Regions from separate parts of the Homo sapiens genome. Here region 1 is linked to region 2. Evidence: promoter capture Hi-C in human tissues and cell types (Jung and others, 2019). All regions are on one chromosome and are shown on one strand. The core of a region is centred on a gene start or on the middle of the fragment in contact, and the rest is flanking DNA. Distances in the headings are between cores, read along the strand shown.

What was found. The method cuts DNA at HindIII sites, captures the fragments that hold promoters and counts their contacts. A contact is called where the count stands out against the background at its distance.
Region 1: the fragment with the promoter of DNAAF3 here is called in contact with the fragment with the promoter of ZNF579 in region 2 in 1 of the 25 tissues and cell types used here (dorsolateral prefrontal cortex).

What each region holds. Positions count from the first base shown.
Region 1 is chr19:55,162,337-55,169,234 of GRCh38, reverse strand. It overlaps DNAAF3 (dynein axonemal assembly factor 3), which reads left to right and starts at 2,622. Exons shown (of 12, transcript NM_001256715.2): 1 at 2,622-2,712; 2 at 2,818-2,906; 3 at 3,235-3,377; 4 at 3,772-3,865. The coding sequence starts at 2,822. DNAAF3-AS1 (DNAAF3 antisense RNA 1) reads right to left here. Exons shown (of 4, transcript XR_007067345.1): 3 at 4,435-4,691; 4 at 2,331-3,416. LOC124904795 (small nucleolar RNA U13) reads right to left here and starts at 2,064; the gene lies at 1,961-2,064. RefSeq lists a silencer at 3,011-3,242. The HindIII fragment of the contact is 9,836 bases long and covers 1-6,898 here.
Region 2 is chr19:55,575,431-55,582,549 of GRCh38, reverse strand. ZNF579 (zinc finger protein 579) reads left to right here and starts at 1,702. Exons shown (of 2, transcript NM_152600.3): 1 at 1,702-1,755; 2 at 2,909-5,776. The coding sequence starts at 2,911. The coding sequence ends at 4,599. RefSeq lists silencers at 353-647, 1,359-1,498. The HindIII fragment of the contact is 17,237 bases long and covers 1-7,119 here.

The sequences.
Region 1 (6,898 bases), core at 1,373-3,872, 410 kb after region 2:
GCAGCGGGAAGACTTTGGAGGATTTGAAGAGGTGGGAGACATTATTTGATTTATGTTTAAGATCACTCTGGGCCAGGTGCAGTGGCTCACACCGGTAATTCCAGCACTTTGGGAGGCTGAGGCCGGCGGAACTCTTGAAGTCAGGAGTTCGAGACCAGCCTGGCTAACATGGTGAAACCCCGTCTCTACTAAAAATAAAAAAGAATCGCTGGAGCTGGGCACGGTGGCTCACGCCTGTAATCCTAGCGCTTTGGGAGGCCAAGGCAGGTGGATTGCCTGAGCTCAGGAATTCGAGACCAGCCTGGGCAACACGGTGAAACCTCGTCTCTACTAAAATACAAAAAATTAGCTGGGCGTGGCAGCGTGCGCCTGTAATCCCAGCTACTTGGGAGGCTGAGGCAGGAGAATTGCTAGAACCCGGGAAGCGGAGGTTGCAGTGAGCCAAGATCGTGCCACTGCACTCCAGCCTGGGCGACAGAGCAAGACTCCGTCTCTAAAAAAAAAATAATAAATAAATAAATCGCCTGGCTCGGTGGTTCACACCTGTAATCCCAACACTTTGAGAGACCAAGGCGGGCAGATCACCTGAGGTCGTGAGTTGGAGACCAGCCTGACCAACACGGAGAAACCCTGTCTCTACAAAAAATACAAAATTAGCCGGGCGTCCTGGCGCCTGCCTGTAATCCCAGCTACTCGGGAGGCTGAGGCAGAAGAATGGCTTGAACCCGGGAGGCGGAGGTTGCGGTGAGCCGAGATCGCGCCATTGCACTCCAGCCTGGGCAACAAGAGTGAAACTCTCTCTCTCTCTCTCTCTCTCTCTCTCTCTCTATATATATATATATATATATGTATATATATGTATATTTGTATTTTATTTTGTATATATATACAAAATATTTGTATTTTATTTTGTGTATATATAAATATATATACATATATTTGTATTTTATTTTGTGTGTGTATATATATATATATACACAAAATAAAATACAAATACAAAAATTAGCTGGTGTGGTGGCAAATGCCTGTAGTCCCAGCTACCTGGGAGGCTGGGACAGGAGAATCGCTTGAACCCGGGAGGCGGAGGTTTCAGTGAGCCGAGATCGCGCCACTGCACTCCAGCCTGGGTGTCACAGCAAGACTCCATCTCAAAAAAAAAAAATGTCACTCTGGTTCCTTTGCTGAGAATTTGTTGGGAGAGTGGGAGAAATAGGGAGGAAAGGCATTAATTCTCCAGAGAGAAACCCAGGATCTGGGGCTCTTGCAGGCTTAGAGCTGGCCTGGAAGGGGCTGGTTAGCCAGCCTGATTCTGCAGGAATGTCTGAGGTCTCAACCTTCGTTTCCCCAGTAGGTATTGTCTTCCCAGTGCCCAGATCTGCCCTCAGGAGGCAGATCCGCTGCACCTCTGCCCGCTGCACGCTACATTCCCATTTCACAGAGCAGCAGACTGAGGCTCAGAAAGGGTGACTGGTCTAAGCTCATGTGTCTGGGCAAGGAGAGGAGGCAGAGAGCCAAGTCCCCTTGGGCGCTGAGCCCAGTGCTGGGTGCTGGGGTGATCTAGAGATGTGCCTCATTCAGACTTTGGTTTTTCTTTTTTTTTTTTTTGAGACAGAGTCTTGCTCTGTCGCCCAGGCTGGAGTTCAGAGGCGCGATCTCAGTTCACTGCAACCTCTGCCTCCCAGGTTCAACAGACTCTCCTGCCTCAGCCTCCGGAGTAGCTGGGATTACAGGTGCGTGCCACCACGCCCGGTTAATTTTTGTATTTTTTAAGGTCGAGGCGCGGTTTCACCATGTTGGCCAGACTGGTCTCCAACTTCTGACCTCAAGTTATCTGCCCACCTTGACCTCCCAAAGTGTTGGGATCACAGGCGTGGCCACAGCGCCCGGCCGACTTACCCTTATTTTAATGCAGTTGATTTAACTGTACGATTACAGAATTTACCTGTAATTTTTTTGTTCATGTCAGAAGAGTAATGTGCCGATGTCGTAACAAGGTTTGAGGGAGGCACATCTCACGCATGCGCGTGAACACCCAATCATCCCGCTTAGAAACTACAAAAGGATCTAGCTGTAAGTTTAAATTATGGCTTCGTGTAACAATAACCAGCTCACAAATCCCTGAATTTTTAATGACCTGCACATCAGTGTCCCACCTGTGGGCTGTTCTGTGTGGTAGAGCCCACGTTGTGCTGGGGCGGGGAGCGGGCTCAGAAGCCTGCCATCTAAAGTCTAGACACTTCACTTTATTTGAATTGATGAAAATTCCGTTACGTATGAGCAAAGGCATATGAAGAAAACAAAAAAACAAAAAACAAGAAATAAGATTAAGCTCCCTTCACTCTCAATTTTAATCAGCCCAGGCCTCCCCCATTCCAGAAATTTGGACCGACCCTGACTCCGCCCCAACCTGTTCTAGCACCGCCCCTTCCCCCGCCGGCGCCGTCGTCATGACAACCGCGTCCACACGCCCTCTTCTCCTAGGTGTGGGGGAAGGCTGGCCCTCAGTGCTCCCATTGGCCAAAAGTTTGTAGAGGGCGGGCCTCGCTCACTCTCATTGGTCAGTTGCTCGCTGTGGTCCCATCCCACATGCTTCCATTGCTTGATTCCTCGAAAAGGGCGGGGACTCTGGGCAGCGGTTGTGGAGTGCCGCGGGTCCACAGTGCTGCACTGAGCAGAGAGGAAGGGGCGTCCCGGGATATTTGGAGGATAAAGGTGTGGGCAAGGTATCATGTGGAGGCAAAGGGGCGAGAAGTGAGGGGCGGTGAGAGGGGAGCGGGGCGGGCAATGTGTGCGATTCCCAGAATGTCTTTTCCGCAGGGTGATGACCACACCTGCCGGCTCCGGCAGCGGCTTCGGCTCCGTGTCCTGGTGGGGCCTGTCCCCGGCGCTGGACCTGCAGGCTGAAAGTGAGTCCCAGCACGCAAGGTCTGATACACCGTCTGCCTTCCCAGCCTGAGCAGACGGCCTTTTAGAGCTCGTAGTCCCAGCGTCGGTGGCAAGGGGGGCGCTAACGTTCTCCAACGCTCCAGCGGCAGAGGGCGCGCTCCCAGGGGCAGCCCCGAGGTCCTGTCTGCGGACTGCGAATCCCAGAATACTCAGAGGAAACACCTCCCCTTAGAACCTAGGCCACGGGCGGAACGCCTACTGGGATTTGTAGTCCATTTTTTATAGGGGATGCTACGGTGGACGCTCTGCCAACCACCATGGTGCCCCAGCCAGCTGTCATCTTGCCAGGTCCTCCTGTGGACCCAGACTCCCAGGCCGATACAGTGCACAGCAACCCCGAGCTAGATGTGCTGCTTCTGGGCTCTGTGGATGGACGGCACCTGCTGCGGACCCTGTCCCGAGCGAAGTTCTGGCCTCGCAGGAGGTTCAACGTGAGCTGGGATGAAGATGAGAGCCCAGATTCCCGAGTCCTTGAGGGAGGAAGGGATTGAAATTCTAAAACCTCAGGTCCAGGAATGAAGGGGCTGGAGACTCCTAGATCTGAGGGAGGCAGAAGCTGGGAGCGAACCGATGCGTCTTGGGGGAAGGAAGGGGCTGGGGTTTGGAACTCCTGGGTTCTATAGTGGGGAAGAGCTCGAGGATGAGGTCTTCTGAGTAATGGAAGGGAAGAGAGCTCTGGGGACACAGACTTCTGTGTTTGAAGGAAGAGGCTGGTGTACAGAACTCGGGTGTGTGGAAGGAGAGAGCTGAGGGCCTGCTCTCCTGGGTCTCCTAGGACCCAGGCAAACAGGTCTCAGAATTATTCTGCCCTGTCCATCCTTCTAGTTCTTTGTGCTGGAGAATAATCTGGAAGCTGTGGCCCGACACATGCTGATCTTCAGCCTAGCCCTGGAGGAACCGGAGAAGATGGGGCTGCAAGGTCTGTTGCTAGGACCCAGGCATTCTGACCGCTGGTCTCCTCCCCCTCCCTAGAGGGATTCTGGCATTTCAATGGTACAATTAAAAAGTTTGGTTATTTTCCTGGGAGGCGGAGGTTACAGTGAGCCGAGATCGCGCCATTGCACTCCAGCCTAGGCAACAAGAGCGAAACTCCGGCCGGGCGCGGTGGCTCACGCCTGTTAATCCCAGCACTTTGGGAGGCCGAGGCAGGAGAATGGCGTGAACCCGGCAGGCGGAGCTTGCAGTGAGCTGAGATCGCGCCACTGCACTCCAGCCAGGGTGACAGAGCGAGACTCCGTCTCAAAAAAAAAAAAAAAAAAAAAAAAAAGAGAGCGAAACTCCATCTAAAAACCAAAAATGTTTGGTATTTTCCAGTGTGGTACCTCTGATGAAAAAAAAAATCCAATATATTTATTGATGATGGTCCCCTCTGATGTAATTTGCCATCTTAGAGCCTCAGCTCCTCCTACCTGTAAAATGGGGCTAAATATAATACATCTTAGAGCCACTTAGAAAATTCCAGGAGAGGCTGGGTGCAGTGGTTCACACCTGTAATCCCAGCACTTTGGGAGGCTGAGGTGGGCAGATCACGAGGTCAGGAGATCGAGACCATCCTGCTCAACATGGTGAAACCCCGTCTCTACTAAACATACAACAATTAGCCGGGTGTGGTGGCAGGCGCCTGTAGTCCCAGCTACTCGGGAGGCTGAAGCAGGAGAATCACTTGAACCCGGGAGGCAGAGGTTGCAGTGAGCCGAGATCACACCACTGCACTCCAGCCTGGGCGACAAAAGCAAAACCTCCATCTAAAAAAAAAAGAAAGAAAGAAAAAGAAAACAGGTTTGTTTGTTTATTTATTTATTTATTTGAGGCAGAGTCTTGTCCCGTTGCCCAGATTGGAGTGCAATGGCACGATCTTGGCTCTCCATAACCTCTGCCTCCTGGATTCAAGCAATTCTCCTGCCTCAGTCTCCCAAGTAGCTGGGATTACAGGCATGCACCACCATGCCCGGCTAAGGTTTTGTATTTTTAGTAGAGCCGGGGTTTCACCATGTTGGCCAGGATGGTCTCGAGATGCTGACCTCAGGTGATCCGCCCGCCTTGGCCTGCCAAAGTGCTAGGTTTACAGGCGGGTGCGATCACACCCGGCCCCAAGAAAAGAGGTTTAATTGACTCACAGTTCCACAGGCTGTACAGGGAGTATGGCTGGGAAGGCCTCAGGAAACTTACAATCATGACAGGAGGCGAAGGGGATGCAGGCATCTGTTCCACGGCAGGAAAAGGGGCAAGAGAGGCAGTGGGGAAGAGGCGCACACTTGCAAATAACCAGATTTTGTGGGAACTCACTATCACGAGAACAGCAAGGGAGAAATCTGCCCCTGTGACCCAATCACCTCCCACCAGGCCCCGCCTCCAATATTGGGGATTACAATTCAACATGAGATTTAAGCAGGGACACAGATCCAAACCATATCAGTCATTAATGACCCAGGGAATTCAGAGTACATTGCACAGTACAGATTGTTCAAAGTTCTTAAACAGTTAGAACTAAACTGATCTATTTTACTAAAGGCACATAGTTCTCTTCTATTAAGTTCTTAAACAACTAACATGAAACTATTTGTATGTCTATGTGTATATATATTATATGCAAAGGTATATACAGTCATCCCTCAGTAACACTGGGGACTGGTTCCAGGACCCCTGCAGATACCAAGATCCAAGGATGCTCAAGTCCCTTATAAAATTGTATAGTATTGCCAGGGGCGGTGGCTCACGCCTGTAATCCTAACACTTTGGGAGCCTGAGGTGGGAGGACTGCTTGAGACCACGAGTTTGAGACTGGCCTGGTCAACATAGTGAGACCCCGTCTCTACAAGAAATAAAATATTGGCCGGGCGCGGTGGCTCACGCCTGTAATCCCAGCACTTTGGGAGACCGAGGCAGGCAGATCACGAGGTCAGGAGATCGAGACCATCCTGGCTAACACGGTGAAACCCCGTCTCTACTAAAAATACAAAAAAAAAAAAAAAAAAATTAGCCGCCGGGCGCGATGGCTCACGCCTGTAATCCCAGCACTTTGGGAGGCTGAGGCGGGTGGATCACGAGGTCAGGAGATCGAGACCATCCTGGCTAACACGTGAAACCCCGTCTCTACTAAAAATACAAAAAATTAGCCGGGTGTGGTGGCGGGCGCTTGTAGTCCCAGCTACTCCGGAGGCTGAGGCAGAAGAATGGCGTGAACCCGGGAGGCGGAGCTTGCAGTGAGCCGGGATCGCGCCACTGCACTACAGTCTAGGCGACAGAGCGAGACTCCGTCTCAAAAAAAAAAAAAAAAAAAAAAAAAAAAAAGAAAAAGAAAAGAAAAAGAAATAAAACATTAGCTGGGTGTGGTAGCTAATGCCTAGCCCCAGCTAGCTGGGAAGCTGGAGGAGGAGGGTCCCTTAAGCTCAGGTGGTCGAGGTAACAGTGAACTATGATGGCACAACTGCATTCAGCCTGGGCAACAGAGTGAGACACTGTCTCAAAACAAAAAAGATGTACTTACAAATAGCCTGTACACATGGTCCCATACACCGCAAATCATCTCTAGATTACCTATAATATGTAATACAATGTAAATGCTTACACCATATTTTACAATTTGTATTATTTTTTACTGTTGTGTTGTTATCTTTTCCCCCAAATATTCTCTGTCTGCGGTGAGTGTGGAATCTGCAACTCTAATTCCCTCTTCTAGGTGGTTATTTATTTATTTATTTTAGAGGCGGAGTCTCACTCTGTTGCCCAGGCTGGAGTGCAATGGCATGATCTCGGCCCATTGCAACCTCCGCCTCCGGGTTCAAGCGATTCTCCTGCCTCAGCCTCCCGAGTAACTGGGATTACAGGCGCCCGCCACCATGTCCGGCCCTGTTCTTCATGTAGTTTTTGGGATGCGTGGGGAGTTTGCGGGGGTTCATTGTTTTCATTAGATGACTATGACATAATAACATATTAAGGGTGTAATTTCTGG
Region 2 (7,119 bases), core at 453-2,952:
CATGGTGGCACACTCCTGTAGCCCCACCTACTCAGGAGGCTGAGGTGGGAGGATTGCTTGAGCCCGGGAGGTCGAGGCTGCAGTGAGCCGAGATCACACCACTGCACTTCCTCCAGCCAGCCTGGGCAACAGAAGGAGATCTCATCTCAAAAGAAAACAAAACAAAACAAAAAAAAACAAACAAACAAAAAAACAAGGATAGAGTGTAGTAAATTTCTGTCCTGGAAGTTAGACTATGTTGCCAGTTTCAGTTTCTTCTCTCTTGTTCCAGTTCATCTGGACACAATCCCAGAACACACACAAACCCAGAACAGGCTGCAGGCTGTACTTGACCTTCCATTTTTCTCTTCTACAGGTTATCACTTGGAGACTTACCATATATGCACACGGTGAGCTTCTTTGTTCTTTTCTATGGACACCTAGTATTCCACTGGGTGGATCAGTCATGATTTATTACTCAGCTCTCCTACAGATGGGTGTTTAGATTGGTTTCAGCTGTTTGCAGTGATGTGCAGTACTGCAATGATTAACCTGGTGCAGACATTATTTTGTGCAGTTCCGAGTAGATGCCTCTGAAGAATAAATTCCTGGAATTGCTGGCTCGGTAAGAATGTTCCAGGTTCTACTTGCCCCAGCCGTGTATGAAAGGACCTGTTTGCTCGCACTCTCATTAGCACTGTTTGGCAGGAATGTAACCTTAAACAAACAGCGTCAAGCTGTGGGTATACTCCTGCAAAATGCCTTTTCTGCTCCAGAATAGGTTTCTGAGATGTCGCCAGGTTGGTTTCATTCTGCCAATTTCAGCTGAAACATTGCTGCCTCCAGGAAGACCTCAGGAATCACCTCCTCCCAGTGTGAGCTCAGCTCAGTGCCTTCTGTTCTCTGCATTCCCATAGCAGTTCCCTGCCTCGGAGCACACGTTCCCCCACATGCACTCCAGCGTGATTGATCCGTATCTATCTGCCTTCCCCATCAGACAGTGAGCTCCGGTTTTTGCCACTGTGACTCCAGCACCAAGGACAGCACCAGCCCATAGTAGGTGCTCAGTAAACATTGGCTGCTAAGGTCCCAGTGAATATGCGTATATGTAGACAAATATATGCAGGCTGGCCCGTAGTAGATATTCAGTAAATATTGGTCGCTTAGGGTTGAATGAGTATATGCAGGGGCTTTCACAAAGGGGGAAACCGAGGCTCGAAGTGGGAGAATCCTTCACCCAGACAGCCAAGGGAAGGCTGGAGCCAGGTTCTGATCCAGAGTGCCAGTACTTCCTGAAGCCTCTGTCACTGATTCATTCATCTTCCTCCCCCGGCCACTCCCCTGGCCTGACACAGTGCCTGGCACAGACAGGACCTGATAAATGTGTATTTGTTGAAGGAATGAATGAATATGTGTGTGTGCATGTTGGGGAGCCGGGAGTAGCTGGACCCAGTGTTCCAGGCCCTCAGCACCCTCCGCCCTCTGGGAGCCCGGGGGACAGGCCCCCAGCCCCCTCCCCTCACAGGACCCTGTAGTGCAAGCTGCCTTCCCTCCCCTCTCCAGGTCCCCCGTCCTCCCGCTTCCGGCTTCCCAGCCAGTCTTTCCTCTTTCAGGCTCCGAGGAAAGGCCAGGTTTCCGGGGGGAAGGCTTAGGCAGTGACACCGAGCCCAGCCTCCTCCTCCACCCCCCACCACGCTCAGGCCCCCCTCCCTCCCCGCCACCACCGTCCGCGTTTGGCCGGCCGTGGGGAAGGAAGAAAGGAGCCAAGGAGGCGAGGTAAGAACCCAGCCCCAGCGACCAGGACCAAGCCCCAGGCCCAGGGCTGAGAAATCCTCAAGGCCTCGACCCGGCCCCAATTCTGCTGATCATGCCTTCGGGGAGCTGCAGGCTTGGCCCGGAGGAGATCGGCCCCCCTCTAGGACCTGGGACCCCCGACCCCCACCAGCCTCCCTCCCGAGTCCAGGGGTCCGGCCCTCAGTCGCCTCCTCCCTGGGGATTCCCGGCAGCTGGGTCCCCAGCCCCCGCCTCCCCCTTGTCCTGGGAGCCCAGCCCCCTCCCCAGCCCCTCCTCCACCGGGACCCAGGAATCCACACCTCCTCCATACCAGAGTCCAGATTCCCCAATCCGTCATGACCTGGACCCAGGAGTCTCAATCCCCAGCTCCCATCCCCATCAGTCCCAAGAGTCTGGGCCCCTAGCCCCCTCCCAACTCAGACCAGAAGTCTGAACCCTCCTACTCCCCGACCTCTCCCAGCCCCTGGCATCTGAGAACACACTCTATTTCCGGGGCCTACCGGCTTCAAATCCCACCCCCTCCACTCAGGCCCCATGGGCTGTGTCCCAGCCCCTCCCAAAACGTTCAGCCTGGCCGGGGGACCTGGAGCAGAAGCGGTTCGCTGACTTTGTCCCCCTCCGTGCCTCTGCCCAGTTCACTCCCTCTGTGTCTCTGTCTCCCTGTCTCTCCGGCCCCCAACCCGCCACTGCTCTTCTGATCTCTGCTCTTGCACTATCTCTGCCTCTGGTTCTCCAAGTCTCTTTGTTTCCTCTTCTCTGTGTCTCTGTCTCTCTGCTGGGTGTTCCTCACTCTCCTCTGTCTCTTCTCTGCTCTGCCTTTCACCATCCTGTCTTTCTGCGACTCCTGGTCTCTGTCTGTCCATCCCCACTTCTCTGTGTCTCCCATCTCTGCCTTCTCCTGTCTCTATTCCCTGCTCTGTCGCTCTGTCTCTGATCTCTCTCCTCCTGTCTCTCCATCTCTGGCCTCCCCTCGGTGTCTCTCATCTTTGTCTCTGTCTCATATCTCTCTCCTGGCTAAATACCTGACCCTCTCTGCCTCTCCATCTCTGACTGTCTCTGCTTCTCTTTCTGCCACACCCCACGCACCTCTTTTTATCTCTGCCCCGCTTCCCATCTCTCCCCTCTCTCCCCACAGGCATGGATCCGCAGCCTCCTCCACCCGCCCAGGGCAGCCCACCTCACCGTGGCCGAGGCCGGGGCCGTGGCCGAGGCCGTGGTCGGGGCCGTGGCCGTGGCAGGGGGGGCGCTGGAGCCCCTAGGGCGCCCCTGCCCTGCCCCACCTGCGGCCGCCTCTTCCGTTTCCCCTACTACCTCTCCCGGCACCGGCTGAGCCACTCGGGGCTCCGGCCCCACGCCTGCCCGCTGTGCCCCAAGGCCTTCCGCCGGCCGGCCCACCTTTCCCGCCACCTGCGCGGCCACGGGCCCCAGCCCCCGCTGCGCTGCGCCGCCTGCCCCCGCACCTTCCCAGAACCGGCCCAGCTCAGGCGCCACCTGGCTCAGGAGCACGCGGGCGGCGAGGTCGAGCTGGCCATCGAGAGGGTGGCCAAGGAGACGGCCGAACCCAGCTGGGGCCCGCAGGACGAGGGCTCGGAGCCGCCCACCACCGCTGCAGCAGGGGCCACGGAGGAGGAGGCGGTCGCAGCGTGGCCTGAGACGTGGCCTGCGGGGGAGCCTTCCACGCTGGCTGCGCCCACCAGCGCCGCGGAGCCCCGGGAGTCGGAGTCGGAGGAGGCCGAGGCCGGGGCAGCAGAGCTGAGGGCCGAGCTGGCGCTGGCGGCCGGGCGGCAGGAGGAGAAACAGGTCCTGCTCCAGGCAGACTGGACGCTGCTGTGTCTGCGCTGCCGCGAAGCCTTCGCCACCAAGGGCGAGCTCAAGGCGCACCCGTGTCTGCGCCCCGAGGGCGAACAGGAAGGGGAAGGGGGGCCCCCGCCACGCCCCAAGCGACACCAGTGCTCCATCTGCCTCAAGGCCTTCGCCAGGCCCTGGTCCCTGTCGCGCCACCGGCTGGTCCACTCCACCGACCGCCCTTTCGTGTGCCCAGACTGCGGCCTGGCCTTCCGCCTCGCCTCCTACCTCCGCCAGCACCGCCGCGTCCACGGCCCCCTCAGCCTGCTGGCCCCGCTGCCCGCGGCGGGCAAGAAGGACGACAAGGCCTCGGGTGCACGGAACTCAGCCAAGGGGCCGGAGGGGGGCGAGGGGGCGGAGTGCGGGGGTGCCTCGGAAGGGGGAGAAGGGCAGAACGGAGGCGACGCCGCCCCGGCTCGGCCCCCCGCCGGGGAGCCCCGCTTCTGGTGCCCAGAGTGCGGCAAAGGTTTCAGGCGCCGGGCGCACCTGCGGCAGCACGGGGTGACCCACTCGGGAGCGCGCCCCTTCCAGTGCGTGCGCTGCCAGCGGGAGTTCAAGCGCCTGGCCGACCTGGCGCGCCACGCACAGGTGCACGCGGGGGGCCCAGCCCCGCACCCGTGCCCCCGCTGCCCGCGCCGCTTCTCGCGCGCCTACAGCCTCCTGCGCCACCAGCGCTGCCACCGCGCAGAGCTGGAGAGGGCCGCCGCGCTGCAGGCACTGCAGGCCCAGGCCCCGACGTCGCCGCCACCGCCCCCGCCGCCCCTGAAGGCCGAGCAGGAGGAAGAAGGGCTCCCGCTGCCCCTCGCAAACATTAAGGAAGAGCCGCCCTCTCCGGGGACCCCACCCCAGTCCCCGCCGGCTCCCCCTGTCTTCCTCAGCGCCTCCTGTTTCGACAGCCAAGACCACTCAGCCTTCGAGATGGAGGAGGAAGAGGTAGACAGCAAGGCTCACCTGCGCGGGCTGGGGGGCCTGGCCTCCTGACCTTCGCCGCCCTGCCCTCCGCCGCTCCGCCTGAGCTCCCCGGTTTGCAGAATGGAGGAGGGAAGTTGAAGGAGCCACCTCCTCTGTCTACCCACCCGTCCCCTTCACGCCCTTGACACTAAGGAGTGGGGGGCCCTGGACTGCCCCTTCCTCCCCCATCGCCCGCCCCCAGAACCCCTGATGCTGGTTAGGAACCGCTCACCCCAACATGTGTCTTAAGGCAGGACGACTTGGAAAAAAAGGCGGCGGACAGTTGGCCAGAGGGATGGAGACTGGTGGGGACGCCCCCGCCTCCCTGTCCCCCGTTTCACACACTGGACACCATCACCTCTTTGGAACTGCCAGACCCTGGGGGTCCCCAGTGAGCAAAGGTCTGTCCTTGTCCCTTTGTCTGTCTGTGAATAAATGTGAGTTCGTGAAATCCAAGAGAGCGAGGTGTTCTGTGGAGGTGGGGCAGGCTGGGGGCGCTGGGGCGAGTCAGGATTTGTCCAGCCAACTCTGAACTTGGGTTCAGAGCAGGAAGGACACAGATGCATCAGAAAATATGTGGCCCTCAACCAAGCAAGAAGCCGGTGAAGGCTGGGTTGAGAAGAAACAGGAATGTGAGAAGATAGATCATCGTCACCGCTGCCCTGTGGAAGCTCCGCGCGATTATCCTCACCACTGCCCTGTGGAAGCTCCGCGCCTTACTCAGTCAATCTCTACCACACCCTTACTCTGTGTCAGCGGTGGTACTAGGCACTGAGGAGGAGTCCAATACCTTCCTCTGAAAGAGCTGGAATTCTAGCCCTGCATTGTCCAACATAACTTTTTTTTTTTCTCAGAAAAGTTTCCATAATCTTTCTTCCCTCACTCTGTTGCCCAAGCTGCAGTGCCGTGGTGCAGTCATAGCTCACTGCAGTCTCAAACTCCCAGACCCAAGCAATCCTCTTAGCCTCTCAAGGAGCTAGGACTACAGGTGCATGCCACCACACCCAGCTGATTGTTTCATTTCTTGCAGAGACGGAGTCTTGCTATCTTGCCCAGTCTGGGAGAACTTTTTGTGATGATGGGATATTCTACATCTTCACTGTCCAATATGATATCCAGCAGACACACGTGGCTATTTCCGTTTAAATTTAGAATATGGAAATGTAAAGACATTAAGATGAAATAAATGTAAAAGTTCGGTTCCTCAGTCACACTCTTCACTCTTTTTTTTTTTTTGAGAGAGAGAGAGAGTTTCACTCTTGTCGCCCAGGCTGGAGTACAATGGCACGACCTTGGCTCACTGCAACCTCCACCTCCCAGGTTCAAGGGATTCTCCTGCCTCAGCCTCCCGAGTAGCTGGGATTACAGGAGCCTGCTACCACAACCAACTAATTTTTTGTATTTTTAGTAGAGACGGGTTTCACCACATTGGCCAGGCTGGTCTCGAACTCCTGACCTCAGGTGATCCACCCGCCTCAGCCTCCCAAAGTGCTGGGATTACAGGCGTGAGCCACTGCACCCGGCCTCAGTCTCACTATTTCAAGGGCCAAAGAGCCCCATGTGGCTGGTGGCTGCCATATTGGACAGGACAGATCTAGAACATTACATCATTGAAAAAAGTCCTAGCAGGATGCAATATAGCACCAGGTATAAGGGCTACCAAGAGTAAACCACCAGACAGTATGATGGCAGAGCAGGACTGGGGGTTGGGGCTTCTCTGGCCAGGCGATGTTTGATTTGAATGAAGATGGAGGGAACCAGGTATGAGAGAGAAACATCTGTGAGAAGACAACACCAGACAAAGAAAAAACAGGGGCAAAGGCTAGGAGGTAGGTACTACAGGATTTTTTTTTTTTTTTTTGGACACAGGATCTTGCTCTATTGCCCAGGCTGGAGTGCAGTGGTGCGATCACAGCTCACTGCAGCCTCGACTTCCTGGCTCAAGGGATTCTCTCTTCTCAGCCTCCCAAGTAGCTGGGACTACAGGTGTGCACCATCATGCTTGACTAATTTTTATTTTATTTATTTATTTATTTATTCTTTTGAGACGGAGTCTCGCTCTGTCACCCAGGCTAGAGTGCGGTGGCGTGATCTCCTCTCACTGCAAGCTCCACCTCCCAGGTTCACGCCATTCTCCTGCCTCAGCCTCCCGAGTAGCTGGGACTACAGGCACCCGCCACCACACCCGGCTGATTTTTTGTATTTTTAGTAGAGACTGGGTTTCACCGTGTTAGCCAGGATAGTCTCGATCTCCTGACCTCGTGATCCTCCTGCTTCGGCCTCCCAAAGTGCTGGGATTACAGGAGTGAGCCACTGTGCCCGGCCATGCTTGACTAATTTTTAAATTTTTTGTGGAGATGGTGTCTCCCTATGTTGCCCAGGCTGGTCTTGGACTCCTGGGATCAAGGAAGCCTCCTGCCACAGCCTCCCAAAGTGCTGGGATTACCAGCATGAGCCACTGCACCTGGCCATTACTACATATTTTAGAAACTGCAGGTAATTGGAGGTGAGGTGGGAAGTTTCAATTTCTACACATCTTCAAGTTGTTGG